4 separate regions of the Homo sapiens genome follow, and all the other regions are linked to region 2. Evidence: promoter capture Hi-C in 16 types of primary human blood cells and fetal thymus (Javierre and others, 2016). All regions are on one chromosome and are shown on one strand. Each heading gives the region's core, a stretch centred on a gene start or on the middle of the fragment in contact. The rest is flanking DNA. Distances are from core to core; before and after follow the strand shown. Region 1 holds the start of NUFIP1 (nuclear FMR1 interacting protein 1). Region 2 holds the start of AKAP11 (A-kinase anchoring protein 11). Region 3 has its middle 78 kb from the start of MIR8079. Region 4 overlaps LOC107984619 (a long non-coding RNA gene).

Region 1 (2,700 bases), core at 55-2,554, 2.7 Mb before region 2:
AAATTATATTGGAAAGGGGCCTGTAGTAGAAACATAGCCTCCGGGTAGACCAGGAAGAAAAATTAGATTCAGAAATGGCAGGGTTACTCTTTCAGCTTTACTCTTCTCCAACTGGGTGTCGGTGCTAGTCTACAAATGTGAATAAACATTAAAGCAGATAGGTATGCATGCCGGAATCCGAGAAGCATTCGTTTCGTATATACCAAGTGCCTGTTGCGTGTTCAGGTAGAAGACCATAGTGCAATGGTGGAGACAGATTATGTCGACAAATTATTCAAATACAGTGTACTAAATATGCAATGTAATTAGGAAAAAACCCGAGGGCAAAAAGAAAGGCATGACAATGCTTCGGGGAATCTGGAAAGGTTTTATTGGTGTGACATTTAAGTTGGGCCTTGAAGGATGGGGAGAAGTTTGTCAGTTATGTTTAGGAATGCAACCAGAGGAAGCCCAGAAGCCTAGAGCGTTAAGGAATTGCGCAGCAACTCAGACTGGATTGAGTATTGGGCTGTGTTTGTCAGATGCAATAACAGAATGAGAGGCTAGGAAGGCAGGTCGGGGGCTGGAGAGAACAGGATCTGCAAGGTTCTTGTAATCAGAAGGCAATATGGCACAGAGGTTAAGAGAACCGCTTCCTTCTAAGTCGCGCTCCATCACTTGCTAGCAGTATGATCTAGACACTGGCATGGGCTTGGGCGTACCCATTTGCAACATGGGAAAATAGTTTTTTTCTTATACGGCTTAAATGACTGAGTGGGTATCAGTCAGTTAGGGCAGCGTGCAGCTCATATTAAGGCTAAATGAGAATGTATTATCATCACGAAGCCAAACCACGCCAAAGCTCGTTTCTAGGAGGGTCCCCCAGCCTCCTCCCCCCTGCTACTGTTTGGGAAGAGAAAAGTTCTCTCGGGTCAGGCCGCGCCCACTCCCCACTCCTCCGCCCTCCTAGGCCTCCGACTTTCTTCAGCGAGCAGGGCCCGGCCAGGGAGTGGGTAGATGGGCCTGGTGGGCAGCGGAGACGCCGCCGCTTACCAGGGCTCGGGTCCCGCTCTTCGTCCTCCGCTGTTCCGCGGGCCTTGAAGCCGGGCGGCAGGGCCGGTCCGATCAGGTCTCTTGCCATCCGCGGTGGCGGACACTGGTCACAGATATGAGTCTATCCACGAACGTCAACCCTATCCAAAAAGAATCCCGCGATCAGCAGCGAAGAATGGCAGGTTTCCCGGCGCCGAGAAATGACGTAAAGCCTGTGGTTGGCTGAGCCTTGTAGTTCACGGTAAAGGAAGTGACGCCTAATGCTTGCTCCACAGTCGCGTGCTAGACTCCGGACCCGCCAGTGGTATGGCTGAGCCGACTAGTGATTTCGAGACTCCTATCGGGTGGCATGCGTCTCCCGAGCTGACTCCCACGTTAGGGCCCCTGAGCGACACTGCCCCGCCGCGGGACAGCTGGATGTTCTGGGCAATGCTGCCGCCACCGCCACCACCACTTACGTCCTCGCTTCCCGCAGCCGGGTCAAAGCCTTCCTCTGAGTCGCAGCCCCCCATGGAGGCCCAGTCTCTCCCCGGGGCTCCGCCCCCCTTCGACGCCCAGATTCTTCCCGGGGCGCAACCCCCCTTCGACGCCCAGTCTCCCCTTGATTCTCAGCCTCAACCCAGCGGCCAGCCTTGGAATTTCCATGCTTCCACATCGTGGTATTGGAGACAGTCTTCTGATAGGTTTCCTCGGCATCAGAAGTCCTTCAACCCTGCAGGTAGGCTATTTTTCCACGTGAGTCGACCCCTTTACCTTTTTCCCCCGTTCTTTCCTCTCCCCTTTCTCTGCTTCCTCTCTCTACTCTGCCTTGCCTCTGCACTCTTGGAGTCTGGTCATTAGCATCTCAAAGCAAAGTGAGACCCCCGTCTCTACAAAAAAAATAAAATTAGCCAGGCATGGTGGCATGCCTGTGGTCGCAGATGCATGGGAGGCTGAGGCAGGAGGATTCCTTGAACCCAGGAAGTCGAGGCTGCTTTATCAACTAAGTTTATATAATATTGTAAATCCTTTGTTCTCAAAATATGTCTGACTAGAATGTTTTCCTGTTGACTGTTAATTCCATTTAGCAGTTATTTATTGAATTCCGACTATGTACCAGAATCTGGGTATATAGCAGTGAGCAGAACATACAAAAAATATTATGGAGCTTAATATTATCTCTCTTGTGTAGGAAGACAGACAATAAGCAAAATAAAATATTGTGCATTAGAAGGTTGAGTGGCATGGAGAGAGATAAAACAAAGAAGAATGGTAAGTAGTGCAGGATTTTCTTTTTTTCTTTTTTTTTGGAGACAGAGTGTCGCTCTGTCGCCCAGGCTGGAGTGAAGAGTAGCGCGATCTACTTCACTCCAGCCTATGCAGTCTCTGCAGAGAGGCTCACTGCAACCTCTGCCTCCCGAGTTCAAGCAATTCTCATGCCTCAAACTCCTGAGTAGCTGGGACTACAGGCCCACGCCACCACACCCGGCTAATTTTTTATATTTTTAGTAGAAAGGGGGTTGCCCCGTGTTGGACAGGCCTGTCTCTAACTCCTGAGCTCAGGCATCCGCCCGCCTCAGCCTCCCAAAGTGTTGGGATTACAGGCATGAGCCACCACGCCGGGCCAGGTAGTGCAGTTTTAAATGTCATTGTTAGTCATAAGGAAGGTGACATATGAGCGAAGACTTT
Region 2 (2,700 bases), core at 2-2,501:
GGTACCGTTTGAAAAAGTAAATGTGTTTTTCAAAAAAAAAAAAAATCATTCAATTGCACTATTTTAACTGACACCAATCATGCCAGGCACTGGGCTGCCATCCTAAAATGATGACATTAAAAAAAATATATCTGTGCATTACTGATACCCCATTTTTTCTTAGTACTCCATATTTTGAGTATTTTCAGACATAACAAAATAACAATCGACATGACATTTCTAAAACAGTGGGAAGCAGCTAAGCAAAACGAGCATTTTGCAAGCGATTGAAAAGCTGAAAAGAGAACAGGAATTAACTCCAGTTTGTACTAAAGCTATTAGGTATGTATCTCAGCAGTCTTTCTCACCATGAAACTCCTTAACATCTAAAGCTAAACCACATCCAACTTTATATGGTTTTAGAAGACAGACAAAGCAGAGAAAAAAAATGAAAGCTGGTAATATGGGGAAGAGAAAAAATGTTAGCTTTTACTGTCATTGTCACTTTTTAATACTTCGGTTACATCTACATATTTTTTATAAAGCAGCTTAGATGCCTGGATTAACAGCAGTATACTCAATCCATTCGGGGTACTTTATGGCCAGCCTTAAGCCATTAACAGCCTAGGAGAGTATTTGACAGCAAATCCAAATATCAATACTCTGAGGAGCCCCTTGACGCCTTCCGTTTACAAGATCTGAGCAGCGCCTGCTTCCAAGGCTCCGGGGGTCTGACAGTGAAGGATGCTGTTCGGGAACAAAGTGCAACGTCCTCCCAACCGCTGCAAATGTTCCTGTGCGCACACCACGAACACACACTAAGCACGCGCACCACGCACCCGGGGGGCCGTCTCTGAAGACCACCCCGGGGATGGAAACAGCCTGTCATTAAAAGGGGCGGCAGCTCCACCGCCACACTTGGGACCCCAGGAAGACGCGTCTCGAGACCCAGCACCTCCCTCTACTCTGGGCCCGGTGCGGTGAGTTTCCTCCTTCGGCCGCGCTCCTCCCGCCCTCCTCCCTCCGCCATGCGAAGGCGCAGCTCTCGGGCGGCCCCGAAGCCAGAAGGGGGACCAGCGGCAGGCGGAGGGGCTGGAGCGCCGGAGCCGGGCCGCTCCATCCATGCCGGCCGCACACCCGCCGCCACCCCATCTAAACGCAGCCTCCGCGGCGAGCACGTCGGCGCCCGGCTCACCTGGGGGCCGCAGCCTCCGCAGCTCACAGACATGTCACCGGCCTCAACGACCCGTGAGCGAGCCGGGCAAGCAAGCTGGCCCCCTCCCGCGCTGACCCCCAGCCCTCCCCCTCCCAGCCCCGCGGCCCGCCCCCGCCCTGCCCACCCCTCGGCTTCCGCCGCCGCCGCCGCCGCCGCAGCTCCGGCCCGCAACACCGCCTACTCTCCACGCCTCCCACTCTCTCTCGCGAGAGGGCAGCGCGCCTCTCGCGAGAAAAATTCCGCGGCCGAGCCCGCGCAAAAGTGGGTGGGCGTTTAAAAAGGGAAAGAAGGAACAGGAAAAAAAGCCTTCCCACGTGCTCCAGTGCAGCCCGCGGAGCAGCCCGCGGGGCAGCCCCGCTGGTCACATGACTTAAAGGGGGCCTCTCCATTGGCCGGGACCCACTCAGCCTTGGGAGCTTTAAATTCGAGGGCGACCTACGAACCTGCGGCGGACGTCTTGCGCGCTTCCTGGTCCGTTGCCTTGGAAACGGCTTAACCCTTCCCTCTGGCAAGTCCCCAGGCCTTGGCTTGCTCCGCAGATTTGGTTTCAGGCTCTGCCTCTTTTCCCTCGACCCCTTAGTCTTAACAGCCTGGGGCCAGCTGGGCTCCTTCTTCGCCACAAGGCTAGTTTTGCTTTCTTCCGAAGCCCGGGGCCCTTCCCAAAGTGGCAGCCCCACCAGATCCGAAGGCCCAAGGAAGGCTCATCCTTTCTGATGGCTCCGCCCCTTCTCCCAGCATCTCCGGGGAGGACCACTCACAGCGCACCGGGCAACCAGCCCTATCCCAGCCAAGAAGTAGCTTCCAGGGTTCTCAGGGCCCTAGTGCTCACCCTGATGTCTTTACGTGGTATGGAAATCGGAAAGTAAAGCTTTGGTCACTGGGAAGCCTAGCCAGAGATGAAAAGCTGTTATGGTGATTATTTTCACCTAAAATCGGAAGGGCCAGTCCAGTCAAATTGCCCTGTCTCCTAAAGGGCATCTGTTCCTCAAGAGTGGAAACACCTGGCAATAAGAAAGACATTTTTGAGTGTATCCTCGTTATGAGTTAAGTTTTGCCCTGTTCAGAGGAGAGGGTCACGGAAGAAAGGGTGCATTCGTTTGTTCATTTCTTCATTCAACAAACACTACTCTAGGCTGTTGATTGAACAATGATGAAGACAAGTAGTGTAGATTCTAGGGAACTTATCTGAGGGTGAAAAGAAAAAAAATCTGTTGGTTTTAAGCTGTATGCAAAGAAGTTACAATAAGTGACGTGATGGTGATGGTGACTGAGTGGCTAGTAAAGGGGATGCCCTTTTAAGGAGGAGATATTTTAGCAGCGATTTGAATAACAGACGCAAAAATCAGAGCATAGAGCATTCCAGGAAAAGGATAACACTAATTCAAAGGCCCTAAGTAAGGATCTATTCTAGTGCATTTGAGGGAAGAAGAAATGAGAAAGTAAACTTTCTTGAGCCTGGAGATGGAAACTGTAAGAGTTAAAGAAAGAAACACAAAAAGCAGCTT
Region 3 (2,700 bases), core at 116-2,615, 2.0 Mb before region 2:
TTCATTTTAAGACATTTTCTTCCTGGGACCATGGCTTACTCCCCAGGTGTAAATATTTCTCTTATCAAAAGACTTCCTTTTGTTTTGGGCAATGGGTAATTTATCTGGAGTCCTTTGGCCTCTAGATTATGTCTTAGTATACCGGTTGGTAGAGAGTCCCTCTCTTTCCCGCTGTTGTGTTGACATGGCCTCCATTAAACACCACAGAATTTAGGATTTGTGCTGCTTGCTTCTTTATGAGGCTGGTGCCTGATAGTGGGGCCACACAAAACTGCTTCCCCTCCAGAACAAACTTGATGAGCTGATAAGTGATATAGCCATGCCCGGTACTGTTTTCATAAGTGGGTTAAATTCACATTTGCAAATTCAGTAGAGCAGCCCTTGTCCATCTCACTGTGTCGCTGTGCAGAGGAGCTGAGTTCTGAAAAGCTCTGGTTTCCTTCTCTGTAAGCCTTGCTGGCACATTTTCAAAGACCACATCAGTCAGTGTGAGTGGTCCTGGGTCCTTTCCATGCAGCTGGCTCAGAGTTTTACAGACCCTGTAACAGAATCTCATAAAGACTGGCTGCCATTTGGGGTTAAAGTCTGGTGCTTCTCCCTCTTTTCTTGTATGAAGATTTGATTTTTAGATTTGTTTGGAAAATGACTTTGTTAGCCTAAATCATCTTAGGCTTCAATGTTAAAATAGAGTGGAATATGCAGTAGTTGACTCATACTATTGTAGCTAGACAACTTGTCACTTAATACTTCATGACTTTAGGGATTGGTTAAATTAATAATTTTATAAGGCACATAGACGCCAGAGAGCTTCCTCCATTTTGTTCTTTTCTCTAGCAATGTGCGTCATCATTACACCCCTACCAAATAGTGTATTTTAGAACCTGTTATGCATAACTCTGCCTCTGCTTTCACTTTCTGTTTCCCTCTCTCTCTGCCTCTCCCTCGGCCTCTATGTCTCTTTCATTCACTCTTACTTATATATACTAAAATATTGCAAATTCGCTCCCTAATAATTAGGAAGTTTTTTGCATGTGGCTTGAGGTTGTCCTTCAAAGGTTTTAAATATGTGTTGATGAGAATAGGCATAGGGAGGCAGGTGTGGGACAGCAGATGGAAGGGATGCTCTGTGTTCAAAGATCCCACCCTAGTGAAGTGAAGCTTCTACCTGGGGTTAAAGACCAACTTCCTGATTGTAACAGCTGTGACCCAGAATCTACTCTGGGGTTGACTTCTTCTGAGAGCTGATTTGGCTGTGTGAGCCTGGAATACTGAAGTCAGGAGTGGGAGCAGCAGCAGCGACAGCAGGAGTATGTTTGCCATCAGGCATCAGTGAGCTCCTAACCCCTGGCCAGCCCGGTGTGGTGGGAAAGCACAGGTTTTGCAGTCAGGGGAGCTGGGTTGGAGTTCAGGGTTCAGCCATTTACTAGCTTTATGGTGCTGGGCAATTTATTCAATATCTCTAGTCATCAATTTACTTTTTTATTGTTGTAAAAGAAATACCTCATGTTGGTTATTGTGAAGGTTAACTGAGCAATGAATGTGCAGGTATGGGGAGTTTCAGATGCAAGCTTTGTCTCTGTCCCTTGAGAGGACAGTGTGTCATGTGACCCATTTGAGAATACCAGTGATTTAGCGCAAAAAGTTGCTTTATCTCTTCATTCCTTCAATTTTTTGTTAATACATTTGCTCATTCATTCAATGCTGGCCACGAAGCATGTGACACCAGTCAGGTGTTGGGGATACTGCTGTGAAGAGTCCGACCCTCTCCTCCTCCTACCAGTCTGGGGGAGATGCTGACCACAAATGACAGTCACAATCCAGTGTGGAGAAGCACCACACTGGGGAAAGTACAACATGCTCTGGTGGCTTTGGAGTGTCAGACAACAGAGCGGGGAAGAGGTTAGGAAAAGAAGTGGCCCACAGGATAAAAACAAGCAGCTGGGTGAAGGTGAGGCAGAGGATGTAGCATGGCACACAGCAGTGGTGAAGAAATGAGGATGGCGGGCCCTCTGTAGATAGGTGGACATGCCTGGAGTATCGAGTGTGAGGGTCGTGTTGAGATATATACAGAGATATGGAGCCATCACAAGCTATCTGCACCCAGGAGCTTTCTCCTGGCCTCCCCAGTGACGTTCTGTACCTCAGATGTTGATTCCATGGATGCTGTCATCACCAAAGATGGGATGGATGCTGGGACACTCCTAGCACTTAGAGTTAGAACTTGCAATACATGTTTCCCGTAGAAACAGCATGTTAAATGGTAGTTCAATGTAGTTAGGATATTGCTACAAATAACACCTTTGAGTGTACTTAATTTAAACCTGTGAAATGTAGAAAAATCAAAGAGGACAGGTCCTGTTCCAGGCTAGAGGTACTTTTTGCAATGCAGAGCACTATCCTTCTAGATCTGGCCAGCAGAGCATGAATCGGGACCTCAGGCTGGCTTTGCCTGCATTTGGATTTGAATTTGAATGTTTTGGTCTAGGAGGCTCTCTGCACAGGGTTTCCATGATTCCATCACTCCCTGCTGTTTCATATCTGGCTGACTTCCTCACAGTGAGGTTGCCTACTTGCCCCTGGAGGTACTGGACTTGGAAACCCTTTCTCTAGGCAGTAGGGGTTGGAGATAGCATCATCGTTTCCGACTGATTCATCATCAGCTTGGTGTTAGTCCACTTACAAAGTCAAGCATGACAGTTG
Region 4 (2,700 bases), core at 125-2,624, 2.6 Mb before region 2:
GATTACAGGCGTGAGCCACCGCACCGGGCCTATTTTTATTTTTTGATTATTATTTTAGATTATTTTACTCTCAGATGATATTATTATCCCTGTATCAATCGCGGCCCTGTAGGAAACTCGTGATATATTCTTAGCAGAGTGCTTAATCAAGGATTATTTAAGTTTTTCTTAGGGTTTAGGGAAACAAGAAGGGGTAATGCAGCTCTCACAGCTCCTGAGCCTAAGGGGCAAGGCCAGGGAGGATAGCTGATGCCGGGGGCTGCCAGGCAGAAGCTGTGTAGTTTTTGTTTGTTTTAAACTTGTTTTTAGGCCAGGGGCAGTGGCTCATGGCTATAATCCCAACACTTTGTGAGGCCGAGGTGGGAGTATCACTCGAGCAGGAATTGGAGACCAAGACCAGCCTGCACAGCGTAAGGAGACACCGTCTCAAAAATAAAAAAATAAAAAAAAAAAAAAAATTTGCCAGGCAGTGGTGCGTGCCTGTAGTCCTAGCTGCTCAAGAGGCTGAGGTGGGAGGATCGCTTGAGGCCAGGAGTTCGAGGCTGCAGTGAGCTATGATTGCTGCTGCACTCCATTCTGGGCTAGTGAGATCCTGTCTCCAAAAAGCAAGACAAAACTGCTTTCAGATGGCAGGTGAATTCCATTTATATGAAGGCTGTCATGTCTACTCATCCTATTAATCATTCATTTTCATAAAATAGAGTTTTGACCTCATGGATTTGACAGAAGCTTTCTTGAGATGGCTGTAATATTTGGTGGACTCAGAGCATAGTAGATATTTCTGAAGACAGGTACTTAATGATATGAAAGGGTTTCACTTTGTGGGGAGATGGTTACTTCAGTTATATTTGGCATTTTTATGGCTTTCCCTTTTTGTAAAACATTTTGCCATAACTTCCATTCATCATCCTCATAGTCTTTAGATTCATAGACTATTTGAGCTGGAAAGGCCCTTAGCAGTCGTTTAACTTAGACCCTCGTTTTACCCGGGAAACATCTATTCTGAGATTTTATTTCTCTGATTCCCTAGTATTGGACTTTAGATTGTATCCACAAAAGATTGAATTCCTGTCTGGTGCTCTAGCCAGACACCACTCTCTCCAAATCCTGGCGTCAAGGAGCGGGGCTTAGGGGGATTGAGTGCAGAGAAGATTCAATTATTTTTATTTATTTATTTATTTATTTATTTATTTATTTATTTATTTATTTTGAGATAAGGTCTCCCTCTGTCACCCAGACTGGAGTGCAGTGGCGCGATCTCAGCTCACTGCAATTTCTGACTCCTGGGTTGGAACGATTCTCGGGTCTCAGCCTCCTGACTAGCTGGGATTTTAGGTGTGCGCCACCGCACCCAGCTAAGTTTTATGTTTTTAGTAGAGATGGGATTTCACCATGTTGGCCAGGCTGATCTTGAATTCCTGACCCCAAGTGATCCGCCTGCCTCAGCCTCCCAAAGTGCTGAGATTACAGGCGTGAGCCACCGTGCCTGGCCAAAAAAATATTCTCTTGTATTTTTGGTCAGTGTTCACAGCATAGCTGCATAAACATAGTAGTAATTTTTCTACGTGAAGTTTTTTTTTAAAAAAATTCATCATATATAATCATTTCTAGAAAGTGATGAGCTTAACCTGTTTGGGGTATTTGAACTAACCATGTGTTCCTGTATGCTTTCATTTTTGCATATAGTCATAAACTCTGATGGATTCCACATGAAAATTGCTTTGTGCCCCTCAACAAGTGTATTTATAGTCATGCAGATTCATATGTATGTTCCCTCAGAGTATATCTGATGCCGCATGCAAAAATATCCTAAATAATTACATTAACACTTCATATATTAATATGAAAGCAAATATGAATTTTAACTCACCCACACTGTAAAGCTGAATAACTTGGAAAAACACTGACTACTTGGAAAATCACTGGAACAAATAATCAAAAAATCAATTTGCAAACTTCTAGAAGACCACAGGGCACTGGGTAATCATCCCACATTACTTTGTGAAAAACAAAGCTTATCAGATGAATCTAATTTCCTTTTGTCGCAGAGTGACAGCCATGGTAGATGGGGGAGCAATCAACATAATCTATCCTGATTTAAGAAAGCTTGGGATTTTGCAACTTGTTGTGTACTCATTAAGAAAATGTAGGTATGGCCGGCATGGTGGCTCATGTCTGTAATCCTAGCACTCTGGGAGGCCGAGGTGGGTGGATAGCTTGAGCTCAAGAGTTCCAGGCCAGCTTGGGCAAAAAAGCGAGACACCCTCCCAACCCCGGCACCGTCTTCTACCCCTCCCCGCCGCCCGTCTCTACAAAAAACACAAATCGCTTCCTCCTGCCCCTCGTCTCTACAAAAAACACAAAAAAATAGCTGGTGGTGCACGCCTGTAGTCCCAGCTACTCAGGAGGCTGAGATGGGAGAATGGCTTCAGCCTGGAAGGTAGAGGTTGTAGTGAGCCGAAATCGCACCACTGCACTCCAGCCTGGGAGACAGAGCCAGACTCTGTTTCAAAAAAAAAAAAAAAAAAAAAAAAAAAAGAAAGAAAGAAAGAAAGAAAATGTAGGTAAGACTATTCCTGTTTCATAGGGATACAGTCAAACTGAAGTTGGGGGCTCAGCTTTATGCAAATAGGCAACTTCAACACAGTATGTGCAAAAGTGACCTCTTTCTCCTTCCCAAGTCCTTTTCTACTTGGATTA

Evidence for each region. The method cuts DNA at HindIII sites, captures the fragments that hold promoters and counts their contacts. A CHiCAGO score of 5 or more calls a contact.
Region 1: a contact is called between the fragment with the promoter of NUFIP1 here and the fragment with the promoter of AKAP11 in region 2, in 1 of 17 cell types (naive B cells). The highest score is 8.1, in naive B cells.
Region 3: a fragment that was not itself captured here is called in contact with the fragment with the promoter of AKAP11 in region 2 in 1 of 17 cell types (total B cells); the score reaches 7.2 in total B cells.
Region 4: a fragment that was not itself captured here is called in contact with the fragment with the promoter of AKAP11 in region 2 in 1 of 17 cell types (total B cells); the score reaches 6.9 in total B cells.

Annotation. Positions count from the first base shown.
Region 1 is chr13:44,988,075-44,990,774 of GRCh38, reverse strand. NUFIP1 (nuclear FMR1 interacting protein 1) reads left to right here and starts at 1,304. Exons shown (of 10, transcript NM_012345.3): 1 at 1,304-1,750. The coding sequence starts at 1,339. It overlaps GPALPP1 (GPALPP motifs containing 1), which reads right to left and starts at 1,237. Exons shown (of 8, transcript NM_018559.5): 1 at 1,033-1,237. The coding sequence starts at 1,120. RefSeq lists enhancers at 491-1,127, 1,054-1,243, 1,434-1,503, 1,128-1,766. The HindIII fragment of the contact is 7,208 bases long and covers 1-2,700 here.
Region 2 is chr13:42,270,703-42,273,402 of GRCh38, reverse strand. AKAP11 (A-kinase anchoring protein 11) reads right to left here and starts at 1,251. Exons shown (of 13, transcript NM_016248.4): 1 at 1,175-1,251. RefSeq lists a silencer at 992-1,341 and an enhancer at 1,882-2,061. The HindIII fragment of the contact is 2,900 bases long and covers 1-2,065 here.
Region 3 is chr13:44,272,754-44,275,453 of GRCh38, reverse strand. No RefSeq gene overlaps it. Among named protein-coding and RNA genes, the nearest start is that of MIR8079, 78 kb to the right of the region's middle. RefSeq lists an enhancer at 813-992. The HindIII fragment of the contact is 410 bases long and covers 1,161-1,570 here.
Region 4 is chr13:44,913,825-44,916,524 of GRCh38, reverse strand. The region is part of intron 1 of LOC107984619 (a long non-coding RNA gene); the gene reads left to right. Among named protein-coding and RNA genes, the nearest start is that of TRE-TTC2-1, 2.8 kb to the left of the region's middle. The HindIII fragment of the contact is 1,285 bases long and covers 732-2,016 here.